Linked DNA regions of Homo sapiens: region 1 is linked to region 2. The links are contacts of gene promoters, found by promoter capture Hi-C in human tissues and cell types (Jung and others, 2019). All regions are on one chromosome and are shown on one strand. Each heading gives the region's core, a stretch centred on a gene start or on the middle of the fragment in contact. The rest is flanking DNA. Distances are from core to core; before and after follow the strand shown. Region 1 overlaps NEPRO-AS1 (NEPRO antisense RNA 1). Region 2 holds the start of BOC (BOC cell adhesion associated, oncogene regulated).

Region 1 (5,551 bases), core at 202-2,701, 50 kb before region 2:
CTATTTCCCTAAGCCTTCACCAACACAGTTTGTCAAGCTTTTTGACTTTGCCAATTTAATCGGTGAAAAATGGTTTGTCAATATATTTTTAATTAGTTTATTTTGTTGTGAATGAGACTGTTCATCTTTCACACATTTCATAGTTATTAGTATATTCTTTTCTGTTAAATCTTTATTAATATTTATTCTTTCTTCTATTGGGTTGGTAGGGCTCTTTAAATCGATATTTTTCAGTTTTTTATTTATTAGGAAAATTAATCATTTGTCTGTGATACAAGATGCCATGATTCACATTTTTTTCCCTAGTGTATCAGTGTATCATGTGTCTTTTACTCTGGATTTTTTTTTTTTTTTCTTTTTTAGAAACAAGGTCTTCTGTCATCCAGGCTGGAGTGCAGTGGCATAATCATAGCTCACTGCAGCCTCAAACTCCTGGGCTCAAGCAATTCTCCCTCCTTAGCCTCCCAGTAACTGGGACTACAGGCACATGACACCACATCTAGCTATTCTTTTTTCTTCTTTTCTTCTTTCTTTCTTATTTATTTATTTATTTTTTAGAGATAGTGTCTTCCTATGTTGGCCAGGCTAGTCTTGAACTCCTGGGCTCAAGCTATCCTCCTGCCTCAACCTCACAAACTGCTGAGATTACAGGCCACCAAGGATTTTTACCTTGCAGAGATGTTTCTTTTATATTTAGTCAAATTTATTCATCTTTTCATTCTGATTTCTAGGTTTTGTTTTATACTTAGAAAGACCTTCTGATAGGAGAGATGTTCTTTGATATCTTCTAATTATACATTATCTTGAATGTCAATCAACATTTGTTTTTCTTATATGATTGCAAGTTAGCAAATGATCAGGTATCAATGCTGATGTTGTGGGGAGAGGGAGGTGTGTGGCAGTAAGAATCTGGATTCAAATCCTTTTCCTTCCCAGTTGTGTCACCATGCAAGAGCACTTGGCCTTATTCTGCTATACACCCCAGCTATTTGTCTGCAGTAGGCAAATGAACATGCCCAAAGTGCCACAGGTCAGGTGTATGTGAAACGAGAATGCTAAAATGCTTTAATGACATGTGTGCATGAATATTTTAATTTTTTCACCTCTGCATAGCATAGCATTGTGTCTTCTGCTAGACAGCTAGGTGCTGCCTGTCTCCATCATGTCATTGTTATTGTTTGCCCTCATAGGTACTAATTATGACATGGGAGATATAGCAAAATTCATTATAGCTTTTAAAAAAATCTCCCAGTGTAGTGCAGTGAGAAAGGGGAGGGAGAGTCACTCAGTCAACATGTATACTCCTTGACTGAGCAGTGTTTGAGTGGGCACCAAGCTTAGACATGTGTGTAGGGAGGCAATTATAACTAGTTACAGCCATCCTGCCTCTTCTGTCCTCCTCTCTTCCCCAGCCTTAGCCCCCCAGCCTCATGGGGCCCAGAGTCCTCCTTCAGATGAGGCCAGTGTCCCAGGCAACTACCTGACGTGGGAAAAGCTGCCGTCCTAGAGATCAGAAAGAACCCACCAGTCAGGAACAGCAATTCTGATGATGTCAGCTTCTAAGTTTTCAGAAGCGACAGCCTCTGGTGTTCTTACAGCATCAGAAGAGCAGAAAAGCTGGCCACTTATGAACCCACACATTGTTACAGAGCATCTCGGCTTTCTGCCAAGGAGCACCACTCAGGCTTTAAAGATTTGTCCTTTGATTTTACTTTTTAGGGCATCTTGAGACAATGTTCTGCCTACACAAAATTCTAAACTGAGAGGAGTGGCTCAGAAGCTCTACTAACATGGAATCACATGTGGTAAGCCACTCTAAGGATATTATCCTCAATCATTAGATCTCTCTGGGCTTAGGTTCTAGGCAGGTGGATGGTGGAGATATGGGAATATGTGGTAGGTCACTCTAAGGATATTATCCTCAATCATTAGATCTCTCAGGGCTTAGGCTCTACGCAGGTGGATGGTGGAGATACGAGAGGTCCGGAAGAATAGACTGAGGGGTAGCCACAGAGATCAGAATAAATTTGAGTGCCAGGAGGACAGATCACGTCAAGTCATGGACTGTATCACGGACATAGAATCTTGATGTAGAGTTAGAAATGGGGGCTGAAGGATAGAGGAAGGTTTTGGAAGTTGGGAGACTCAGGAAAGCTGAGCAGGAGGCTGTGTCTGAATGGGTAACTTATATCTAGGGGAAATTGTACAGATAGATCCCTCTGATGTCCTCTGAGTTAAGATTCAGATGGTTTGAAGACAGTTTCTACCTGAAACCATGGTGGCAACTTGAGGCTTGAGCGCAAGAAGAGACCAAGGGCCATACGAGAAATGGCTTATTTGCTCCCACTTCATCTGGCCACCTTTCTTTAGCAGGACATCCCTACTCTAAGTTTTAGACTGAAAGGTAAAGTTAATCAGCCAGCAGGAAAGGAAAGAATGGCCATTCATTCGTTTAACCACTGTTCACTGAACCTTATGTGCCAGATACTGTTAAGGTGCCAGGGGTATAGCAGTGAACAAGACAAAGTCCTTGCTCTCAGAGTATCCATATTCTAGTGTGAGAGACAGATGATAAACAAGATGTATTACATTTATAATAAGATGATAAACAAGATATATATGTGTGTAACAGTGGCAATCATTGCTAATCAAGCCAGGGAAGAGGCTAGCTAGATAATTAAATGATGGAGGGAGGATGCTATTTTAGATAGGGTGGTCTAAGAATGACTTGGTGGTAATGATGTGACATTTGAGCAGAACTGGAATGAAGTGAGGGAGTGAGTTGTGCAAACATTGAGGGGAAGCGCTTCCAAGGCTAAGATAACAATAATGCCAGAGGCAGGAGTGTGCTGGGTGTGTGAGGTGCCACAGGGAGACCCCTGTGGCTGGAAATAGTGAGTGAGGGTGGCATCATAGGAGATAAGGTCACAGAGGTTGGGGCAAGCAGATGCACGATGTAGGTCACATAGGGTCTTGCAGAACGTAGTAAGGATTTAGGAATTTATTCTGAGATGAGAGGCCACTGGAAGATCACACGCTCATCAGATTATTAGAGGGCCTGGAAGCCACTCTAATGCCTTGTGTGATTTTCCAGTGCTGGACTGACCTCCTAACCTGTGAACAGACTGTGCCCCCCACGCTCCCAATTACAGGGAAAACAGTTGTGCCCTTTCAACCACCAACTGTGCAGTTCTGGGCAAAAGACATAAACAAACGCTGCAAATCTCAGGCCACTTGAGCAAAGCCTTCCTCATCTCTATGCTGGTGGCTACAACTGTGACCTTGTAGGTAGGGGCTGTGTTCGCCCCTACTTGAGTTGTACCATATGAACCAGTAAGTGGCTGCTGATAGAACATTCAGGAAACTGCTTCTATTTCCTCATCTCTGAATTCTTCCTCTCAACATCTCATAGACCAGGCCTCTGCTTAACAGAACCTAAAAGGAGACCTGCTATGACCATTTTCTTCCACCTGGGACAAACTAACGGCAGATCTTCCCAAGTTTCTTCCTCACATAGGAAGTGAGACATCCCCCCCAACTCTCCATACGGTTAAAGAACAAGATTTGTCTAAAGCATTCATAGGTTCAGTCTGGAAAACTTCTCATAAGATTCAAATGCACTAGCAGACATGCCCACAGGAGGAACCCAGACCCCAGAAGCTGATTTATTTCACAGAAATCACCTTGAAGCCTTAAAAAATACAGGCAGTTCTGTTGTTTGTATGTTTTGTTTTTATCATAAATTTCTTAAACACACACACACCAAAGTCATAGTGTTGTTAAAGACTATTTAATAACCAGAAAGTTGTTCAAATGAAATAGCCTAGGCGAGGCTGTGCAGAAACAAGAATGCTTTTACATTGTTGGTGGAAGTGTAAATTACTTCAACCACTGTGGAAGACAGTTTGGTGATTCCTCGAGGTTCTAGAACCAGAAATACCATTTGACCCAGCAATCCCATTACTGGGTATATACCCAAAGGATTATAAATCATTCTACTATAAAGACACAAGCACACGTATGTTTACTGCAGCACTATTTACAATAGCAAAGACTTGGAGCCAACCCAAATGCCCATCAATGATAGACTGGATAAAGAAAATGTGCCATATATACACCATGGAATACTATGCAGCCATAAAAAAGAATGAGATCATGTCCTTTGCAGGGATATGGATGAAGCAGAAGCCATCATTCTCAGCAAACTAACACAGGGACAGAAAACCAAACACCACATGTTCTCACTCATAAGTGGGAGTTGAACAATGAGAACACATGGACACAAGGAGGGGAACATCACACAACTGGGCCTGTAGAGGGGTGGGGGGCAAGGGGAGGAAGAGCATTAGGACAAATACCTAATGCATGCGGAGCTTAAAACCTAGATGATGGGTTGTTAGGTGCAGCAAACCACCAAGGCACATGTATACCTATGTAACAAACATGCACGTTCTGCACATGTATCCCAGAACTTAAAGTAAAAAAAAAAAAAAACAGCATGTTCATATGATCATGTGTGTGTGCGTGCTTGTGCGTGTGTTCTAAGCATAGGCAAATATGCATAGACTCATGAAAGTGATAAGAATATGAGTGATTTTAATTTCATCTTTTTAATATATATTTTCAAATTTAAAACATTTTTAAAAATTCTTACATTCCAAACAACTGGATATAATGTCAGAAACTTACAGTCTCAACCTCAGTCTTCCCATCAGCCACTCTACAGGGAAGGGCCAGTATGTGATTCCAACAAATCCCCTTTGAATTAGAGCACATGTATGTAGTAAACATTCATACATTGATCTCCTGAACCACTGACCGACGCCCCGCTTTTTTCAGGCACCTGCACATGGCTTAGAATCATTTACACACAGAAACACAGGATTGGAAAAGATTTCAGAAATGATCTTACCCAACTGCCAGCTTAATGCACAGCTCTCCACTGCATCCCTGACTGGGGCTCTTCTGTCCTCTGCTTCATCACTTCCCAGGCTGGAGACAACAGGGCAGTGAGACCCGTTACTGGTGGAGAATGGCCCCCATCTTGCAGAGAGGAAATATCTTACTCCCACCCACAGATCCTAGCCCCAGATCTATGGCATTTAAGATAAGCTTTAAGAACTCATCTCACAGGAAATAAAAGAAGAATTGGAGGGTTTTTTTTGTTTTTTGTTTTTTGGGTTTTTTTGGTCTTTTTTTGTTATTTTGTTTTGAAGACCTCTTTCAGTTTATTCTAGTTTCCTTTCCATGCTGTTTGGCCCACTCAGAGACTTGCCTTATTCTCTTTCTTTGTGTCTGAAGTTTCTTTCTCCCCTAGGCAAAGCACCATAAGCTAATTTGCTCCCACTTCATCTGGCCACCTTTCTTTAGCAGGTCATCCCTACTCTGATTTCCTACCCTATAGATAGCTGACTTTCTTTGTCTTTTCCCCTACTATTTCCATCGCTTTTTTTCCTTTCTTATTTAGAACTTCTTATTCTCATTCCCCTTCAGGGTCATATTAAAACAGTTGGAGACATTACAATATTATAACGACTCTCTGAATATGAAT
Region 2 (5,435 bases), core at 2,280-4,779:
TTAATAATTTTCTCAGCATAATCCTCTCCAGATATCTTTCACAGTCAAAGAGATCCCTGTTTATATGATACAGGTAGAGTATCTACAGCACACTGAGAGGAAACCACGTCTTTTCATGTCATTCACTGAATTCCTTCCAGTTTATTCTGCACAGCCTAGCAACATAGTGACTTATATAGACCTACAATCCCTACTCACCTCCCCACTCCTTCCCCCGACCAAGCATTTAAATTAATGTGATGATCACTTCCATACCAAATGCTTCCTTCTTGGTGGAGGCCCATAACATTTCCAAGAAAGCAAGGTGCTAGAGGTAAATCACCATCAACAGAACGGACAGTAGCAAAAAGCACCTTACAAGATCCAGACTCCACCTAACTGTTTTGAAATGGCTAGAGATGCTGGAATGGGTTGGGGTGGGTTAAGATAGAGAAACTAATTGAAAGGGGAGGAGGGAATTAGGCAAGAAATACCCTCCAGGCAAAATGGAGTGGGGAGAAAATTCAGATACGTTGTTCTTACAGGACTAGTAGTAATAAACACAATCACATTAATACAAAGAGCAATAAAAACAATAAACATATCTGAGGTACCAACAGTGTGCTTGATGCCGCCAGCAGAATTAAGTCCTCTTTATTAAGCTGTGATCTGCATTCTGCCTAAACTATAAGAAAGGTGAGCAGCAGGCCGGGAGCAGTGGCTCATGCCTGTAACCCCAGCACTTTGGGAGGCTGAGGCGGGCTGATCACCTGAGGTCAGGAGTTCGAGACCAGCCTGTCCAACATGGTGAAACCCCGTCTCTACTTAAAAAAAAAAAATTAGCCTGGCGTGGTGGCAGGCACCTGTAATCCCAGCTACACGGGAGGCTGAGGCAGGGAGAATCGCTTGAATCGGGGAGGTGGAGGTTGCAGTGAGCTGAGATCATGCCACCGCACTCCAGCCTGGGTGAGAGAGCCAGACTCCATCTTAAAAAAAAAAGGAAAGAAAGAAAGGTGAGCAGCCTGCATGCATGAAGGAACAAGGCAGTGTGTCATTCTCCTGACTAAATGGTGCTGGTAGGGACTGTTACATTCTTTGTGTTCTGTTGTGTTCTGATGCTTAACTCAGAGCCTAGGGCTGTGTGGACCCAAAGACCAGAGTAAGAGAATGGAGAGTCCTAGGAGAAAGATGACAGAAGGGGTAGAAGATATCTTTGAGATGTCAAGCAACGAATAGTATATACAGGAATATAAAAGAATGAATCTGAGACCTTCATGCATCACGTTCTCATTGAGCGGTACTTGGAATCATCTTTGAAAAACAGAAGGCTGGATACGCTGCTTGGGTCCCTGGGGAGAAGGAGTGTTATCACTGCAGAGGAAGCTGGTTGACCCATTCCCTTGGGGGAATTAAAAGTTCTGTACCCAGGGTGGACCCCAGGCCTTGTAGTCCAGAATTGTGCCTTGGAAGGAGGACAAAAGAAAGTGGAAGCTAATATAGTCAATGACTGGAAAGAAAAATAGGTCTTTGAGAATGTTGGGGGAGATTGTTAGAGATTAAAAGGGAAGGAAAATTAGGATGATTAAGTAGGAAAAGGAAATGTAGGTGGATAATGCACAGAGAGAGTTCAGAGTCCTTTTCACCTTCTTGCTGAAAATGCATCATCCTCCAGATCCATTTTGCCAGAGGAACATGCCTAAGAATCCAGGCACAGAGCTGAAAGTACTCGATAAATCAAAAAGGAAATTGGCTTCTGCCTGAATGACTAAATACCGGAGAAAAAATAGTGCAAAATATGGAATAAAATACATTTATGTTTCCTTTGTAAAGGTCTTTTGGTTCAGATTCAATTAGAGTCCTATACTCAGTGTAAAGTATGTATGTTTACTGACAAGAAACAAGTTAATAAAAAACAAAACAGGGCCGGGTGAGGTGGCTCACGCCTGTAATTTTAGCACTTTGGGAGGCCAAGGTGGGCAGATCACTTGAGGCTAGGTGTTCAAGACCAGCCTGGACAACATGGTGAAACTCCGTCTCTACTAAAAATACAAAAATTAGCCGCGCATGGTGGCAGGTGCTTGTAATCCCAGCTGCTTGGGAGGCTGACACTGGAGAATCTCTCGAATTCAGGAGGCAGACTTTGCAGTGAGCCGAGATTGCACCACTACACTCTAGCCTGGGCGACAGAGTGAGACTCTGTCAAAAAACAAACAAACAAACAAACACACACACACACACACACACACACACACACACACACACACACACACACAAAACCCCCAGAGGCCCAGAAAAGTTAAGTGACTTTCCAAAGTCACAGTGGCTTCCTGACTCCCAGTGCAGCTGTCCAGCCACACAGGGAAGGCAGCACCCCCATTCACCCTACTACTAGCCTGGCTGTCTTATTTCCAGGACAGCTTCCTCACCAGCTTGGCACAAACTCCCAGTTCACTTTAAACAAATGGCTTAGCCCTGCTGGGACTTGGTTTTCTCAGCTGCAATGAAGATACGGAATGGATGACCGCTCACAACCTGTGCTTCATTCCTAAAAAATAAGAAGGGAATCCAATTTGCCACCAACTCAACATTTGCCTTCTCACTGCCCTGGAAAGGTAGTTTTTAAAACGTGGCCCCTGACCTGCAGCATCAGCATCACCTGGGAACCTATTTGAAATGCAAATTCCCAGGTCCACCTACTGAATCAGAAACTCTGGAGGTGGGGCCCAGCAAAGGGATTTAGCAAGCCTTCCAGGGAGTCCTGCTGCAGATCAAGTTTGAGAACCACAGCTCTGAAAGTTTTCTGACCAACACACACGCGCGCGTGCGCGTACACATACACACGCATAGGTAACTAACTTTTCCGTGGCCACTAGCACCCCCAACCCATGCCCCCAACCCCAGCCCCAGCTCTCCCTCCCCATTCCTCCCTGGCTCCATCCTGGGATGATGAATGGAGGTCAGGGCGCTGTCAATGGACGACGCGGCAAACCCTCCCCAACCGACCGAGGGGGTCGGGGGAGGCTGCGTTAAGGCTTCCCTGAGATTGGTTTCCTTATCATTTTCTCCACCGCCGCTGTCCCATTTTCTGATGAGTTTGCTTTTAATGATTTATCCAACAGTTTGTCTTGCAGAAGAAGAAGACCATTGAGAGGTGGGTGTCAGGAAAGTCTTGGAAGAGACTAGGCGAAAGGAGGGAAGGATTGTACATGGAAGAGCAAGGGTGCGAGGTGAAGCTAAAGAGAAAGTGAAGGCTTCAGGGGAGCCCCCTGGGTTCGGGGAAAAGGGAGAAGATGGTGCTTTTGGTATGGGAAAGCAAAAGAAGTTGGAGGAGAGCGCGGGTCTGAGGCACAGCAAAAAGTGGGTGTTAACGGGAAAACTGCCCTAGAGTTTGGGGGACTTTTTCCAGCTTCCTTTCCAAGACTTTTTCTTTGCTCCATTTTGCTCCTCCCCCTCCTCCCAGCCTCCTCCACTCCCTCCTCCTCCTCCTCCTCGCACGGTAATGGGAGGCTCCTAGGCAGGAGAAGCAAAAGAAGGAATTGTTTGCGAGTTCAGTCATCCAAAAAGCTTCTTCCATATGGAGGGACCGGGTGCGCTGGGCGCGGCGTCCCCTGCGTTGTCCTCCTGCTGCCGCCCCCGCGGCCGCCGCTTTCTGCCGCGGGGACCCTGAGCCCCGGCCCGCCGGTGTCAGCCGCCGCGCGCGCGCACAGACACACACACAGAGACACACAAACACACACAGAAAAGACACACACGCGCACACACGGCGCGCACACCCTCACGCCCGCCACAGCCACAACACGCCCGCACGCGCCCTCCCTCTCCGGCCCGCAACTTCTCGGTCCTCGGCTCCTTTGTTGCTCCAGCCGCGGCCGCTCGCCCGTGTTGTGTGTCCCCGGTGTCACCGAGCGTGTTGTGTGTCCGTGCGGCGCGGCGCTGTGTGGCTCCCTCGCGCCCACCACGCTGGCCCCCGGGCCCCGGCTCGCCCTTCCCAGGCGCCGGCTGCAGCAGAGGTGAGTCACGTCGCTGAAGTTTGTTTTCTTTTCATAAAAAGTTGTGTTTACTGTTGGTTCGGGGAGAGGAGGGGGCGGGAGGCGGCCGCAGGCCGAGGCAGCGCCAGCGAGTGGCTGCCGGGGGACGTGCCGGCGGCGGGAGCCGGGTCCCAGCGCTCGGCCGGGCGCCCGGGGCTGGGAGCTGCGGCCGAGGCTGGGCGCGCCGGGCGCCGGGCGAAGAAGTTGGGGCGAGGCGGGCAGCGGGGGTCCCGGGGGCTGCAGCCGCTACGGGGCCCAGGGGCGCCGCATCTCGTTCCCTGCCGCAGCGGTCTGGCCGGGCGATGGTGGTTTCGCCTCAGCGGTTCCCAGAAGCTTCTCGGGTGGAAGAAGGATCCAGCCAGCCTCCCAAACTTCCACCGAAGGTTGACACCAGCGCCCCGGCCCCATGCTCCAGGCCGTGGGGGGAACCCGAGGCGTGGCGGCAAATGCGTAGAGTCACTCAACACGCACTCGGCCTCTTTGGAGGGTGAGGGTTTCTCATAGTTGGCGTCTTCTAAAGGAAAAACACTAAAATGAGGAACTCAGCGGACCGGGAGCGACGCAGCTTGAGGGAAGCATCCCTAGCTGTTGGCGCAGAGGGGCGAGGCTGAAGCCGAGTGGCCCGAGGTGTCTGAGGGGCTGGGGCAAAGGTGAAAGAGGTGTGTGTGTGTGTGAGAGAGAGAGTTCGTGTGTGCGTGTACGTGTGTGCGCGCGCGTGTGTGCGTGTTCGCGCCAGCAGCGTCCTCCTGGGGTTTTTGTTGATGTAACTGTGAGAAGGTGTGGGAAATGAATCTCTGGAACCAGTGGGACGGGGCTGTGGGGAGGGCAGGGAACCCAGGAAGAATTTTCATGGGGGTGTTGAAGGGCCTGCTTGACTTTCAGGATGTTCAGTATTAATTTGCTTTTCCAGGTGATGGGAGAATGCTGAGGGATGAGAGAGGCAGGCAGACCTGAAGGAGTTAATGGAGCCTCGGGGATTTGTTTGGCAGAGTTTTGTTTTGGGGATGGGGGTGGCAGTGCCAGAGTTGCTTGGAACAGAGTTGTGCTCCTCCAGAGATGTGGCAGTAGAGCTAAGAATACCGAAACCACACACCAGCAATCCCAAACTGGCACTTTTTGGGTGTGGTGGGGTGTTCTGCTGCTCCCCTCATCCCTTCTCTGCAAGTTCAAATGGGTTCGCCTAAGTTTTTGACCCAGAGTTACCTCTTTGAGTGGACTGAGTGAAGATTATATTTTGATTTCAGGCCCTTGTGCCACCTGCAGATGCACTGTGCCCAGCACACATTTGTCACCTAGTTCTTTGTTGTCCAGAACTCGGTACACATTGACCATTGGATGAATGTCATTTTAAAACTTCAGTGTGCAGACATTTCTGATTTATTCCACGACTGGGTCTTAAACAGGCAGCCCAGCTCTGTGATGGTTTTT

What was found. Contacts are between HindIII fragments. The study calls those that stand out against the background at their distance.
Region 1: a contact is called between a fragment that was not itself captured here and the fragment with the promoter of BOC in region 2, in 1 of the 25 tissues and cell types used here (mesenchymal stem cells).

The regions. Positions count from the first base shown.
Region 1 is chr3:113,160,215-113,165,765 of GRCh38, forward strand. NEPRO-AS1 (NEPRO antisense RNA 1) reads left to right here. Exons shown (of 3, transcript NR_186663.1): 2 at 1,720-1,805. LINC02044 (long intergenic non-protein coding RNA 2044) reads right to left here. Exons shown (of 4, transcript NR_110823.1): 2 at 4,913-4,992. Among named protein-coding and RNA genes, the nearest start is that of LINC02044, 4.7 kb to the right of the region's middle. The HindIII fragment of the contact is 3,545 bases long and covers 1-3,224 here.
Region 2 is chr3:113,208,028-113,213,462 of GRCh38, forward strand. It overlaps BOC (BOC cell adhesion associated, oncogene regulated), which reads left to right and starts at 3,530. Exons shown (of 20, transcript NM_001378074.1): 1 at 3,530-3,989. It overlaps LOC124909486, which reads right to left. Exons shown (of 2, transcript XM_047449436.1): 2 at 1-4,253. The coding sequence ends at 3,528. RefSeq lists an enhancer at 3,891-4,542. The HindIII fragment of the contact is 6,739 bases long and covers 1-3,941 here.